4 separate regions of the Homo sapiens genome follow, and regions 1, 2 and 3 are each linked to region 4. The links are contacts of gene promoters, found by promoter capture Hi-C in human tissues and cell types (Jung and others, 2019). All regions are on one chromosome and are shown on one strand. The core of a region is centred on a gene start or on the middle of the fragment in contact, and the rest is flanking DNA. Distances in the headings are between cores, read along the strand shown. Region 1 overlaps PLCH1 (phospholipase C eta 1). Region 2 has its middle 61 kb from the start of PLCH1-AS1. Region 3 has its middle 71 kb from the start of STRIT1. Region 4 holds the start of GMPS (guanine monophosphate synthase).

Region 1 (3,356 bases), core at 457-2,956, 320 kb after region 4:
AAGTATTAGGTGGATGTAGTGGTACACATCTGTAATCCCAGCTACTTGGGAGGCTGAGGCATGAGATTTGCTTGAACCCAGAAGGTGGAGGTTGTAGTGAGCTGAGATTGCACCACTGCACTCCAGCCTGGGTGACAGAGTGAGACTCCATCTCAGAAAAATAAAAATAAAAATAAAAATCCTCAGTGAATATTCATCTGAGTATCCCATAGGTGTGGGGAGCCACAACAGTGAGCAGAAGATAAGACTCCTGCCATTAAGGAGCTTACTCCCCAAGGGGAACTCAGCATCTCATTCTGCCAAACTTCCTCTTGATTCTCGCTCCATTTCCTCTTATTAATAGTTAGGGGCAGCACTGGCCTCAGCCAGAAACTGGGAGTCATTCTAGACTCAACCAATTCTTGGCAATTCTACTTCCCAAGTTATCTTTTGACTCCATTGCCTCCTGTTCATTTTTATTTCCCCTTTGGTTCATCCTCAACACTGGTGCTATAATTTTCTTTCTGAAATATGAGCATGGTGATTCAATTCTTGTCTTAAAGCCTGTCAGAAGCTCTCTCAATACACAGGCATGTCTTCATATCCCTTAAGGTCTGGCATCTCCCTTGTCTTCCACTATCATCTTCCACCATTATTCCACAGAGATTTAGGATTCTGCCTTCAATGACTGTCTTTCAGCTTCCCTATTGAGCCTGGCTCTTTCTCAACTCCCCACTCTTACGTATGCTGTTCTCTCTGCCTGGAACAACCTTCCCCGTTAGTCTATCTGATTAATTGTTGCTTATTCTACAAGGCCGTTTAAGTATTGTCCCTCCAACAAGTTACTAATACCACCAGCTGATTTAAATCTTCTTTTTCTCCATATTTTCTCTGTATTTAGCACCCTGCACATATTTCTGTCATATCATATAGCACCCTCTTGCAATTGGTTGGTTACTTGCCTTCTTTTACATCTGTAAGACTGTGAACTCACTGAAAATATGAGCAATCTCTTATTATTTTGTATTCATTTTTGTTGCCTAGCAGGTACCTTCAGTATACCAGCTATTCAAGAAAGGATTTTTGAATTAAAGGAAACAAATTAAAATTACAATTGTGTAAAATTAATTTTTTAGAAGTTAGTAGCCTTTAAAATTTCCAATATTTGGTCTTCTCATTAATTAAACATGAGGTTAAAAATGCTTTTCTAATAAGACACACTTGCTGTATAGCAGATTTAGTTTATGATGCCTCCCACGTGGAAGAATCTTGAACACTGCATTCTAATGGGTCTTTACAACCCTGATTTCTACAGGTCCTAGCCAAATGGGTGAAGTAATTTTGCCTTTATTTCCCAATGTATGAAGTAGGGTGTTGAGAAGGCCTGCCACCTATGTATCTTGGAAGATCCTCTGGTGATTTGACAATTTACTTCAAGTTTGGGAACTCTTAGAAGAAAAGCACTTCAAATTAAAAGAGTTAATAAACTTGTTTAGTACATTTTAAAAGTTCAGCCTTTTCCTCTCCTTTCTTAACTTTGGTTGCATCTTTATATCAGGGTTTCTCAACCTTGGCACTAATGACATTGTGTACTGATAATTTTTTTTTTTTTTTTTTTTTTTTGGTAGAGAGCTGTCCTGTGCAGCGTAGGGTGGAAAGCAACATCCTCAGCTTCTATTCATTATGTGCCAATAGCACCCCTGAAGTGTGACCACCAAAAATGTCTTCAGATATTGACAAGCGTCTCCTGTACTGGGGGGAATAATTGCCTCGTTCCCTGTTGAGAAGCACAGCTTTACACTAAACATCATCAAGCACTAATTAGGCTTTTTTTTTTTTTTTTTTTTTTTTTTTTTTTTTTTTCTGAGGCAGCCTTGCTCTGTCGCCCATGCTGGAGTGCAGTGGCATGATCTCAGCTCACTGCAACCTCCGCCTCCTGGGTTCAAGCGATTCTCTTGCCTCAGCCTCCTGAGTATCTGGGATTACCGGCACGTGCCACAATGCCTGGCTAATTTTTGTATTTTTAGTAGAGACAGTGTTTCACTATATTGCCCAGGCTGGTCTCGAACTCCTGGCCTCAAGTGATCTGCCTGCTTCGGCCTCCCAAAGTGCTGGGATTACAGGCATGAGCCACCACTCCCTGCCACTAATAGATTTTTTGTAAATGAATTGACAATGTGAAAATTCCTTGTTAAAACTCCCTGATGTGACTGCAGGACAACTCAGGGTTGTCAGTTTGTTGTTGCTGTTGCTTTTCCCTCTTCTAGCACTTTAGGGTAAAACCTATGTGAAGAAATGAATAGCAAACAGATTGTAGTCGAGTAAGGAAACCTACCTCAGCCACAAAGGCTCATCTGTAAGATGGCCCACAGCATCAGGTTTTACTAATGAGGAGAGAAGGTAGGTCTGGCGGTCATAGCCCGTATTGTGGAACTTGTGCTTGTCATGAAAGCCTGGAAAAAGTTTTTCTGCACATTGATATATTAGGTGATTTAAATATTGGTATATGTTGATATATTAGGTGATTTAAATATATTGCCTATTATGTCTGAAGACATGTAACGGAAAACTAGAAAAAAGTCAATGAACCTGAATTTGAAATAATTTCTTATTCTGAGGAAAAAATAAGGTTGAGAGAGGAGTAAAATCATGTAATCAGCCCTGATCTCCTTTCTGCCTTAGCCACCAACTCCTTTAGGTAATTATTTACATGGATCTCATGTTTTCTGTGCAGAAACCTGAGTGCTGGTGTAGAATGAATGCTTGGCTGGTTTTTATTTTTATTTTTTGACAAAGACTAGTATATAATTCTATCAAAGTGATTTTGAAATGTGCGACGTAGGATGCTATAAAACACAGAATTCCCTTATGTTATTTTATCCTCAATCATAATTTTCAAGGTGGGGGTTAATTATATATTTTAGAGTCAATAGCTTCATTTAATGACATTCAGTGGTCTCTTAGAAGCTGTTAGACTTTTGAATAAATAAGACAAAATTACATTATATGAGTTTACTTTCTTTAGACTTCTCATCTCTTTTAAAATTTTCTCTTCTTTTAAAAGAAACATAATATATCTACCATTGTTTCCTGATGCAAAATATTAGAAAAGCCATCCCATGTGGATTGGTATTTTGTTCATCCATTATGCTTAGCAAAGTATATTTGCTCAGAGGAATTTTTTAAATGCATTTCTAATCTTTCTCATTTTAGAAGCATTTTAACCATCATCAGTATCGCAAATACTGTCACTAGGATTGTAACAACACAGTGAATACTGAATCATTTTCAAAAGTCCCTGTGAGTTGCCTGCACCTGACGCCTCTGGACTGTGTTGCTCTTTTCTCAGGTTTCCTGTTATATTGTCTATCGAGAAT
Region 2 (3,194 bases), core at 18-2,517, 480 kb after region 4:
AACAGTAGTTGCAGAGAGGTAGGCTGATTATTTTTTACATCTCCCTTCAGAGCAGAAGTTTCAAGTCTATTGTATCCATTAATAGTAACCCTCTCAGCTCATTCAGGTCAATAGGAGATGAGATTATTTCTCTTCTCTAGAAGAACTATAGAGAGGAAGTCAGCAGAGTCTTCTAAGAAAGAGCTTTGAGAAAGATATTTGGCAGGTATTACATTTTCTCCTCCCTCAATATATTTATCTTCTGGAAAAAAAAGGCACATAGACATTCTTGTAACTTATGAATAATGGTTATAGTCTATTAAATTTCATTTGTTCCCTGAAGAAGAGAAAAATAATCATGCGATCATGTCAGATTGTCCTAGATTTCCAAGGGTTTCTTCTAATATTCTATCCCTTGATTTTATCAACTGATAACTAAAAAAAATTTGATGCATAAAACATTCTCTTATTTGATTTGTTAAGGCTAAATAAAGACAGATAGTGATTGTCCACCTCGATGGCAATAAAAGAATAATGACAATATCCCCAAGTCCAATAAATGCAGAATTTCTAGGCAAGAATATTTTCACCCCAGCAGTCTGAAGATTACCATTTATCAATCTCAGATTAGCTACAAGTTTGTTCAATATATTTGACTTGTTGCTGCATTCACTTAATTTTCAACTTTAGGGTTCTTTACCTTGTATTATCTTTTCTTATCACAATGAACGCGATATTTCTAATTGAATCTTACCTAAATTGAGAGTCTAAAAACTGAGTTTCTCCTTGAACACTTTCATTGACAAACAACTCACCCCATCTTCTCATGAAGTTCAGATTTTTGGAAAGCTTTTCCTAACATTGAACTAAAACCTTTACTCCCATATTCTTCTATCTTTGGCACATGAAACAATTCCAGCCCTTCTTCCACTTGACATCATCTATCATGAGCCTCATGAGTTTTCTATTCTGCAGGCTGTACATCCCTAACTCCCCGGAGGTTGCCTGCTTAGGACATGGTTTGCATATGTTCATCCTCGTGTCTGTCTTCTGAATTTACTCCATGTTCTTCTGCAAAGTCTATCTTCCATCTTGAAGCTCTTGTTGGATTAAGCTTCTCAGTTGAACCACACAAATCATGATATCCTGTCCATTCCCTTTAAAGTACCTGACCTTTGGCTTTGGTAATAATATCTGAATGAATTTCTTTTATTTGCTAGTATGATTGAGGCCTTAGTTAGGCTTTTTTAGGTTTCAAGAAGCAAAGACAAACTGAAGTTTAGGAAGTAGGAGTTTGCAGCAAGGCAACATGGGGGTAAGGGAAGCTTAGACCACCAAGCCACAGCAGCAGCTCTGGGGCACCACGGGAATTCAGGCAGGTGTCTCAGAAGCAGGCGTCTGAGTCCCCTTTCTCTGCTCCCTGCTCACCATGGAGGCTCAGAGAGTTTCTGACTGCTGCTGCTCTGGTCTTCTGGTAGCTCAATATTCTCCTTCTCTCCTACTCCTGGCTTCTATTCTTGCTCCCTCTCTGTGTACTTTTTCAGGCTTAGATCAAGACATTTAGACCAGAGTATCTATAGGCTACTCTCTCCTCCCTCTCTCGAATTTCAAAATAAATGCCGATAAAGTTTCAGTTAAGCAAGATGAGTAAGCTCTAGAGATCTGGTGTACCACATTGTACCTAAAGTAAATGACAATGTATCGTACACTTAAACATTAATTAAGAAAGTAGATCTCATGTCATTTTCTTACCATAATAAAATAACATTTAAAAATATGCAGCAGAGATTAAACAGATATTAAGAAAAAATATATGTCTAGAAAAAGTTTTAATTTTTTCCCTGTGATGATTATTTTAATGCTTTTCAAAATAAAACAAGTATTAATTCTTTACAAAATAATTTTTTGGTACTCTGGTGATTTGATATGAACTTTTTCTGCCTGTTGGTAAAGAGGATGTTTTTATTTCCTCTAACAATTGCTATTTTTTTTTTTTTAATGCTGGACTCTCAAATCATCTAAGCAATGAGATCTGATCAGCTCAATTAGGTCACAATTGTGCCTGTTTGGCGGCTCTACTTGAGGCAAGCCTCTTCCTAGGCTATTTTTCAGGCAGGCATGCCTCCCTGGTCCAAGCAGCTGTAGCAGGGTGGTGTGGTACCAAATAGTTAACCAGGTGAGTGTGGCTGGAATCCCAGAGCAGGAAGTGGGTCTGGCAGACAGCTTGTGTGGCCTTCAGTACATACGTCTGCACAAACCACTGAAGGACTTGCTCACTGTCTCATGCCACACCACAATTCATCCTTTCACTTTGGAATATGATGTACTTAGTGAAGTCCAAATTGACTTTCCAGCGGGATGTGTGGCCCTGACCAGACCACTGTAGGGTCTGCAGTTTGGCAAGGCAGTGGGAGAAGTTACCTGGCTCTCTCCCTACAGGAGACCTACACCCTCCTCATGGCTAAATTGAAAGAGTGTCAGGGAGGGTACGAGCTGGGGACCTTTGGACGGTACAGTGATTTTTATGACTTTATTTGATTAAGAATTTCAATGACATTGGTTTAGATGCATCCATCTATTTTTTGCTCCCTTCTTGTTCTTGTTTTTTCAAGGAGATGAGATTTGTGTGTAACCCATGAATTCTCCATGTGAAAACAGACATTGAAATATAGGCAGACTCTCGAGACCCATCTGAGGCACTCCATCATGCTTACCCGGAGATTCCCTTTGCTGGCTACATTTGAGCTGTCCTGACTACTTCTGCTTGGCCCTAGAGCCTTCCCTTCTTGTTGCATTATGCCTGTGACAGCTGATGTTTGTAGCAGGACAGCCTGTCAAATTGCCCAATCGAAGAGAGCTTGTTTCCAGAGATTCGGAAGAGACTGGCAGATTGGGAAGGAAAAGAAGGTTGTTTTTCTTTTTATGCCCAGGAGTAATTGCATGGAAAGGCACCGCTCTGGGCATTTTCCCCGCCAGCAGCAGATGTCATTGCTTGTGGGGAAGAAGTGCGGCCTCCCCTCCCCTCCCCACTTCCCTTTTCCCAGTGAAACCGATGGCAATAAAATTAAATCAAGCATTACTCCTTTTTCTATCAAAAACGCTCTTGTGTTTAAATTATGGATTCTAATGGCTCTCAAGGAGAGCACCAGAGGGGCTCCAAATGCTGTCAGACAGCAGGGGAGCAAGGAGGGGAACCAGCAAAGCACTGCTGCCAC
Region 3 (3,517 bases), core at 656-3,155, 510 kb after region 4:
ATTTCTCTTATATTAATAGTTTTAATTACATATACTAATTTGATTTTTAACTTTTAGTAAGTCTAATTTCTAGTGAAAACCTAACACATAAGTAATTTTGAACCATTTTATATGTTTGTAGATAAATGCCATTTCATAATTTTTAGATAGATATGTTTCCTCAATATTTTGTTTATTAACTGATACAAAATGCATTTAGCTTTTCTTTTTTTTCCTATTTTCTACCAACATCACCCAGGAAAAATATTTAGCTTTTCTATACAATATAAAAATAAGATCTCAAAGTATATAACTTAAAGTTATGTTCAATATTTCATGGTTAAGTATTTTGACTTAGAAATGACTCAGACATTTTATGATTCTATTACTTAATTTAACAAAACATGGTTTTAAGATTTTAAATTACTAAAAAGAATTTTGAAATGATGACACAGGTACCATTCCTAATGTCCTCCCTAGCTGTTCTGGGTCCTGAGTACCCACATGCACCCAGGATGGCTATGAAGGGCAGGGCTCATCTGAATCCTGGATTCAAACTCCAAGTGTAGAACCCAGGACAGTGGACAGAGCTGTGAAGGTGACAGCTGGTGGCCTAGGTTCTCTGAACACACATATATCCTCAAGCTTCACCATAGTCACCTATCCAGACTCTAGAATCCAAAGGCTCAAACCCAAAGATATATGCTTACAGCAAGATGTGTGCGACACTTCAGAGGGGCCCACCAGCCAGCCCTCACAGCTTTAGCTTACAGACAAATCAAGCAAGTACCAAAAACATTATAGAAGTAGCAGTTTTATGACCTTAAAACATGTGACACAAACAGCATAAACCTATCTGACCAATAGACTCAGGCAAAAATGTCTGAATTATATTTAATACTGACAATTCTGAATACACTATTTTATTTTACCAAAAATTTTAAAACTAGCTTTATTTACCAGATAATATCTCAGATCACATAGAAATATTACATACACATAAGATACATAGACAGACATATGGACACATAGACAGAAGCAGATCTTATATCTTTCATTAGCCAGTTTCCAAATAGTTTCTTTCCCCCATTCATACCATCAACCTTCTGATTACCTGTTTCATTGCCCTAAGCAATTGTTAGCTAGGCAGTCCTAAATCTGTACTGACTCTTAGGTGAAATAAGGTGGAACATTTATATCTCAAAGATACAGAACTTAGATCTAAACATTATTTGCCAAGACAGAGAATGACATAGGTAAGGCTCAGTTAAGTTAAGGCAAGACAGCCAGAAAAACTACTTTAGACAAAGGTAAGATTTGTTATGTAAACTTTTAAGTCAATGCCTTTCCCATTGTAAAAGTTTCTAGTGGTTTAGTTGCAGAGAGAGGGAGAGAGAGAGACCCTTACAAATTGAGATTCTCTTTATAAATAAACATTTCTTTTACCAAGAGTTTTAAAATAGCCAGCTGAAGGCCAGAAGGTTGTACTTTGGATATTTAGTTTGATAGGTGGCCTTTAAACTTAGTTTCCGTTTCTTAACTGGATTATTGCTCACGCCAGAGCCCATTAACAAACAGGGCCAGACCCACTCATGACTCTTTGGGTTCTGTGAGGAAGACAGAGGACCTAAAAAGGGGCCAGTGATACCTTAGCTCTCTTTCTCAAAGAGGTATGAGAGTTACTAGAAGTTTCTTTCAGATTCTTTTATGTGACAACCAAGACTCTCATATTTCCTCTTAGTAATTTTTCATCCATTGACCACCAGATGAAGAAAGTAGGGGCTTGAAGGGGCACATATCAATGATTAAGGGGAAATGAATGGAAGATCATAGCAAAAACAGGGGTAGGAGCAAGTGGAAGAATGAGTCCTAGAGGAGCCAGTGTGGGGAGATCTCAAACTTTCAAAAAAAGGCCAATTAAATTTTACATCTTTTTAAGCAAAAATCTTGCCAAAAAAGGAAACAAGCAGAAGGAACGCACGTACAATTAAAAAGAGGTTTCAGTTGGATCAAAAAAATCCCCATGGGAGAAATGGGATCCAAAGGAGAACAGAAATGTCTAAAAATATGTATAATCTGAGTATCAGCTTTGCTTAAGCTGACTTTTGCTCATAGAATTCAAAGAATCTTTTGAATCTCTCATTATCAGTTTTAGCCAGAACAAAGCCAATATTCCTGGCTTTTGAACTTTTTGTCTTTTCTTTTAAACCAAAGGTAATTTCCCAGTGACTGAGAACGAAAACCTTAACCAAGGATGCATGAGGCATCTCCAAAAACGTGTAAAAAAGCAGTCCTCACAAGACCCAGAATTACCCCCTGGGTCTAGCAGCTACTAGATGAAAAAAAAAGAGACTTAGAGACAAACAGGAAAACAATAGCCATCCATGGAAGGGAAAGGGAAAAGAATCAATAAGAAATGAGTACATCAGAAAGTCAAGAGTCACACAAATATAAATTCAAAATAAGTAATCCAAACTAATTCTTATTGCTGGGCGAGGTGTCAGAGCCCTGGCATTGGAAAGTGGTTGACTTGTGGGTTGGTAAGAATTTACTGACAACGGTATGGGTTTGAAAACAGAAATATTTTTTAGAAAGAAGGAACGCTGCAGAAGAGTGCAGCGGGGGGCCTCAGCAAGAGAGGACTGAGCACAGCATGGTGGCTTTTTCTTTAGAGGTGTTTAGAGACCTTAAAGCGGAAGCTGAAGGGTAATTTGCATGATAAACGATTACATTTGTAGACATCTTGGTGCCTTAATGTCGGTAAGGATTGCACAATGAGTTTGGCAGTTCGGCATGCATGCATTCTGGAGGTGTATAGACATTCTAGTTTCCTGTAAATTTTAAGTTGAAAAGAGGCCTGGAACCAGGTGCTGACTTTAGATAATAGGGAAGTCTAATTACTTCTAAATTCCTCAAATAAGGAATTTTTCTTTTTGTCTCTTAATGGCCTGCTTGATGGTCACTAGGTGATCTTTGCTCTCCTTACTTATAAATGTTTCTTTTTACCTCCTGGGTTAAAGGACTTACATCTCTAAGGGACTGGTTCTCCGTCTGGGAATCAAACCTGGGCAGTGGATGTGAAAGCATGGAATCCTCGCCACTAGAATACAGGCTGGATTGCCCTTTTTGCATATCCCACAGGGAATCCAAAGCAGGCAGTGTGTGTATACACAGGGTTTTAACTTTGTTTTAAATCTGATTTCTGCCATTTTGGAATCTTGCCAATAGAATTTTAAAGGCTATATTTCTTTTGTATTTTTTCATAGATACCAATAAGATGGCTATTTAAGATAAGAGCTCTCTAAAAAGTTTTCTTTTAAATATAGTCCTTTTGTTTATTTCATAAGCGACTCAAGCCAACAGACATTTTTAATGGAAGGAACACCATGGACATAAGTGGCGTTTTAAAAATGGGTGCAGAAGATGCAGCATCATATGAAACCCTCAAAAATTTACTCCCAGAAATAAGTTAAATAACAAAAGACTCTCCTTCCACAGATGGTTAAGGATGATGTCTGTGCATATGTATGGTGCCTCT
Region 4 (3,249 bases), core at 607-3,106:
TCCTTCTAACACCAGTTATTTCATCTATCAGCATAAAGATGAATCTTTCCAATGAGTTGTAAGACTCAAAACTAGGCAGAAAAATGCTTTGCAAGTCGACTAGTAATCGGGAAAGAGCTGGACAATGGGGTTTACATTTGCTCCTTAGGTCAGAAACTAAAGGTTTGTGTGTCTTAACAGCTCCCTGGACCTAAGCACCACTGGTGCCTTGGTTTAAAAGAGTTAAAATCAGCTACCTTATAATCTTTTACTCATTGTTCGACAAATACTTTTTGAATGATTACCGGGTGCTAAGCAACCATTCAAGAGGACCTCCTAAGATGTGACCCTTGAGCAGCACCTTTTAAAAAGAATGTTAAAATTCTGCCTGAACAAGGCACTACTATCTGACGTAGAGCACCAAATCCACCTCGAAGTATACAATCCCACCCCCCGAATGAAATTTAATTAAGTTTTTTCCTAAAGCTAGGCCCTCAACAGCGTACAGAGGAGGTGTATCTTAATGAAGTAAATCGCAATTCAAAACTGCACGGTTTCCCGCTGGCAAAACTGACTTAGTGAAGGTCAGAAAGAACTCCAGGCCAATGAAAATTTTAATACAGAGGTGAAAGCGAAGGTGCCCAATTCAAAAGCGGGACGAAAGTAAGAGGAACGGTCTAAGAAAAGTGAGTTGGAGGAGAGATGAGCAGCAGCGGTCAAACGTGCTCTCCCCGCCGGGTACGTCAAGGCGGCAACTTTTCCAGCACTCCGGAACTCCGGACTGCCCAGGCCTCGGGCGAGCTGGCACGGCTCGCGTCCCGGGGAGGGACCCCAAAGGCGGGGAAGCGGGTTACCCCGCAAACCAGCAAGCTCGACAGGGAGCAAGCTGGACGGGGGCGGGACCTGGACACACACCCTTTCCTCTCTGAGAAGGAAGCGGGGAGGGAGAACGGAGTGCGCGACCCTGGGGCCACCAGCCCTCACGCGGGCCTGCAGGGGCGTTGGGGGAGGGGGAAGACAGTGCAGCTCCGAGGGGTTCGTCCAGAACCGGCCTAACCGCCGCGGAGCCCAAGGCTGGCGGGGGGAATGGAGCGGGCCTCGCCGAGGGCAGGCGGGAAACGGGGTGGCGGGAAGACCAGAGGCCGGCCCAGCTCCAACGCCGCACAGGAGGCCCCGACCCTGCCCTGCCTTCGGCGGGCCCCGGGATCGCCACAACGGGCCCCCAGCCTCCCAGAGGGACGGGGTGGGAGCCGAGGAAGCCCCCACCCCGACACGCAGACACACAAGCCCGCTCGCCGCCCTACCCCCACCCTCGCGCCGCGCTCGCGGGCTCTGCGCCCCACAGCGGCGCGGGGGAGGCGGGGGCCAGCGACGCGGCCGCGGGGAGCTGATGCCCTCCCCGACGCCCGGACCTCGACACGCAGACAAGATCAACAAAGCATCGCCGCTCCCGAGATAAAACATGCCACAGGCCCCGACCAGGGACTCTACGACGCGTGGCTGCCCGGGGCGCAGGGCTGCGCGGACGGGCTGGGGGAAGGGGGTGGGGAAGGGCCTCGCGGGGTGGCTCCCCGGTCCGGGAGCCTCGCCTCCGCCGGGATGCGGTGCTGCAGGGACCCCCACGCTGACCTTGGAGTCTCCGTTGCACAGAGCCATCGGGGCCAGGGCCGGAGCCGCGGCGGTGACGGCGACAGTACGAGACGGGGCGGGAGGGTGCCGGAAGGGTCGGCGCCGCGGGCTGAGGTTGAGAAGGAGGCCTGGTCGAGGAGCAGCCGGCAGCGGAGAGGAGCCAGCCGCCAGAAAAGCGCCGAATGGAGCAACAGCAGCGGAGCGCGGGCCCCAGCGCCGCGGGAGAGAAGACCAGCAGCGCGCACGCTGCCCCCGCCTCCTGCTTCCGCCCCGGCCGGCCACTGGGAGGAGCCAGAGCCCGTTCGGCTTGGCAGCCGAGCCTCAGATACCCTCCGCAGCCGCCGCCAAACCGGCCGGCCCTCGAGAGGAGGGGCTCGCGGCGCCCGGCCCCGCCCCCAGCCCGGTCCCCGCCGGCAAAGCCGGCCGGGTCTCCCGCGGCCCGCCCTTGGGAGGAGGAGCCCGCGGCATCCACCGGCTCCGCCCCTCCTGCCCTCGCACCGAGGAGCCCGCCCCGGAGGAGGGGCCTGTGGCGCCGGCCAGGAGAAAAACCGAAGCCGAATCCGAGCTAGTTTGCTGCTGCCGGATTTGCCTGCTACCTTGGATGACTTCGGGAGGCTGGCGGCACCGAAGAGGCCTCCTGAGAGCTGGGCCCCTGGCGGAACTCTTAGCCGGTGGCGTGGCCTTATCTCAGGTTGCTGGACATGAAGGAGGCCAAGGCTGCTTTGGAAAGTTCCGTGGCCATATCTCAAGGATGTCATTGTAGGAACTGATCACTTAGATACTTCAAAAGTTATACAGCTCCCCACAAATACAGCAGGTGCAGTATTTCCAAAGAAAAGGGAGTTTGGGAGTGGTAATCTGGTGAGCAGCTGGCCCAGGGAACTGGTCGTGAAGCTCTGTTTGCACAACAGTGTTTTTATTGGAATTGTTTGTGGGGAAGGGGCTGCAGTCCCTCCACCTACCCCTTGGCAACCATCATGATGATGAGGTGTTACTTTGAATTTGGTTACCTAGAGGCCTAAATCGAGATTGGGGTATAAAGAATAATACTTGAGATGGCTTCCAGCTAACAAAGCCTTTCCACAAATATTTTTATTATAATACAGCCAACATTTTGCTGCAGTCATTCTTGTGTCAGACTGTAGCTAGGGTATTAAGGAGCCAGAGTGAGAAAATACTTTAAAAGCTAACTTTAACCAATCCCGTGAAAGTAGTAAGGTAGGATTGATGTTCTTATCCTTTTTACAAATGAGGAAATTGAGGCTTAGTGAGATAATGTGCCTCTCAGTATATATAGAATGTAAGGCCTGCCCAATCTGGGAAAGTGTAGACAGTTTATTAGTGAAATATTTACAAAAACGAAAGGCTTAAGGTCCTAGTGGGCCTGAGACTTAAGTATTTCGCTTACCTTTTTTTGAACGGAAAATTGAATATTTGAACTCTCCAAAGCCATGGATACTGGCTTCTCTGGGTAGGTCTGTATGCACAATCTAAAGAAGAGTGCAGTAACCAATAGGAGAACCTCAACTTACATAAACATCCACCCCTAATGGAGTGGAATGTGATGTGATATACTGGCATTAAGGATTGGCTAAGTCCCATCTATCTTAAACAATGCTTAGTTTAAATATATTCTAGGCT

What was found. Contacts are between HindIII fragments. The study calls those that stand out against the background at their distance.
Region 1: a fragment that was not itself captured here is called in contact with the fragment with the promoter of GMPS in region 4 in 1 of the 25 tissues and cell types used here (mesenchymal stem cells).
Region 2: a contact is called between a fragment that was not itself captured here and the fragment with the promoter of GMPS in region 4, in 1 of the 25 tissues and cell types used here (mesendoderm cells).
Region 3: a contact is called between a fragment that was not itself captured here and the fragment with the promoter of GMPS in region 4, in 1 of the 25 tissues and cell types used here (mesendoderm cells).

The regions. Positions count from the first base shown.
Region 1 is chr3:155,549,931-155,553,286 of GRCh38, reverse strand. It overlaps PLCH1 (phospholipase C eta 1), which reads left to right. Exons shown (of 23, transcript NM_014996.4): 10 at 3,329-3,356. Among named protein-coding and RNA genes, the nearest start is that of PLCH1-AS2, 66 kb to the right of the region's middle. The HindIII fragment of the contact is 4,599 bases long and covers 1-3,356 here.
Region 2 is chr3:155,386,782-155,389,975 of GRCh38, reverse strand. No RefSeq gene overlaps it. Among named protein-coding and RNA genes, the nearest start is that of PLCH1-AS1, 61 kb to the left of the region's middle. The HindIII fragment of the contact is 3,607 bases long and covers 1-3,070 here.
Region 3 is chr3:155,362,670-155,366,186 of GRCh38, reverse strand. No RefSeq gene overlaps it. Among named protein-coding and RNA genes, the nearest start is that of STRIT1, 71 kb to the right of the region's middle. RefSeq lists enhancers at 2,031-2,708, 2,709-3,387. The HindIII fragment of the contact is 4,184 bases long and covers 1-3,517 here.
Region 4 is chr3:155,869,257-155,872,505 of GRCh38, reverse strand. It overlaps GMPS (guanine monophosphate synthase), which reads right to left and starts at 1,856. Exons shown (of 16, transcript NM_003875.3): 1 at 1,609-1,856. The coding sequence starts at 1,635. RefSeq lists enhancers at 1,063-1,822, 2,362-2,411 and a silencer at 1,002-2,221. The HindIII fragment of the contact is 29,940 bases long and covers 1-3,249 here.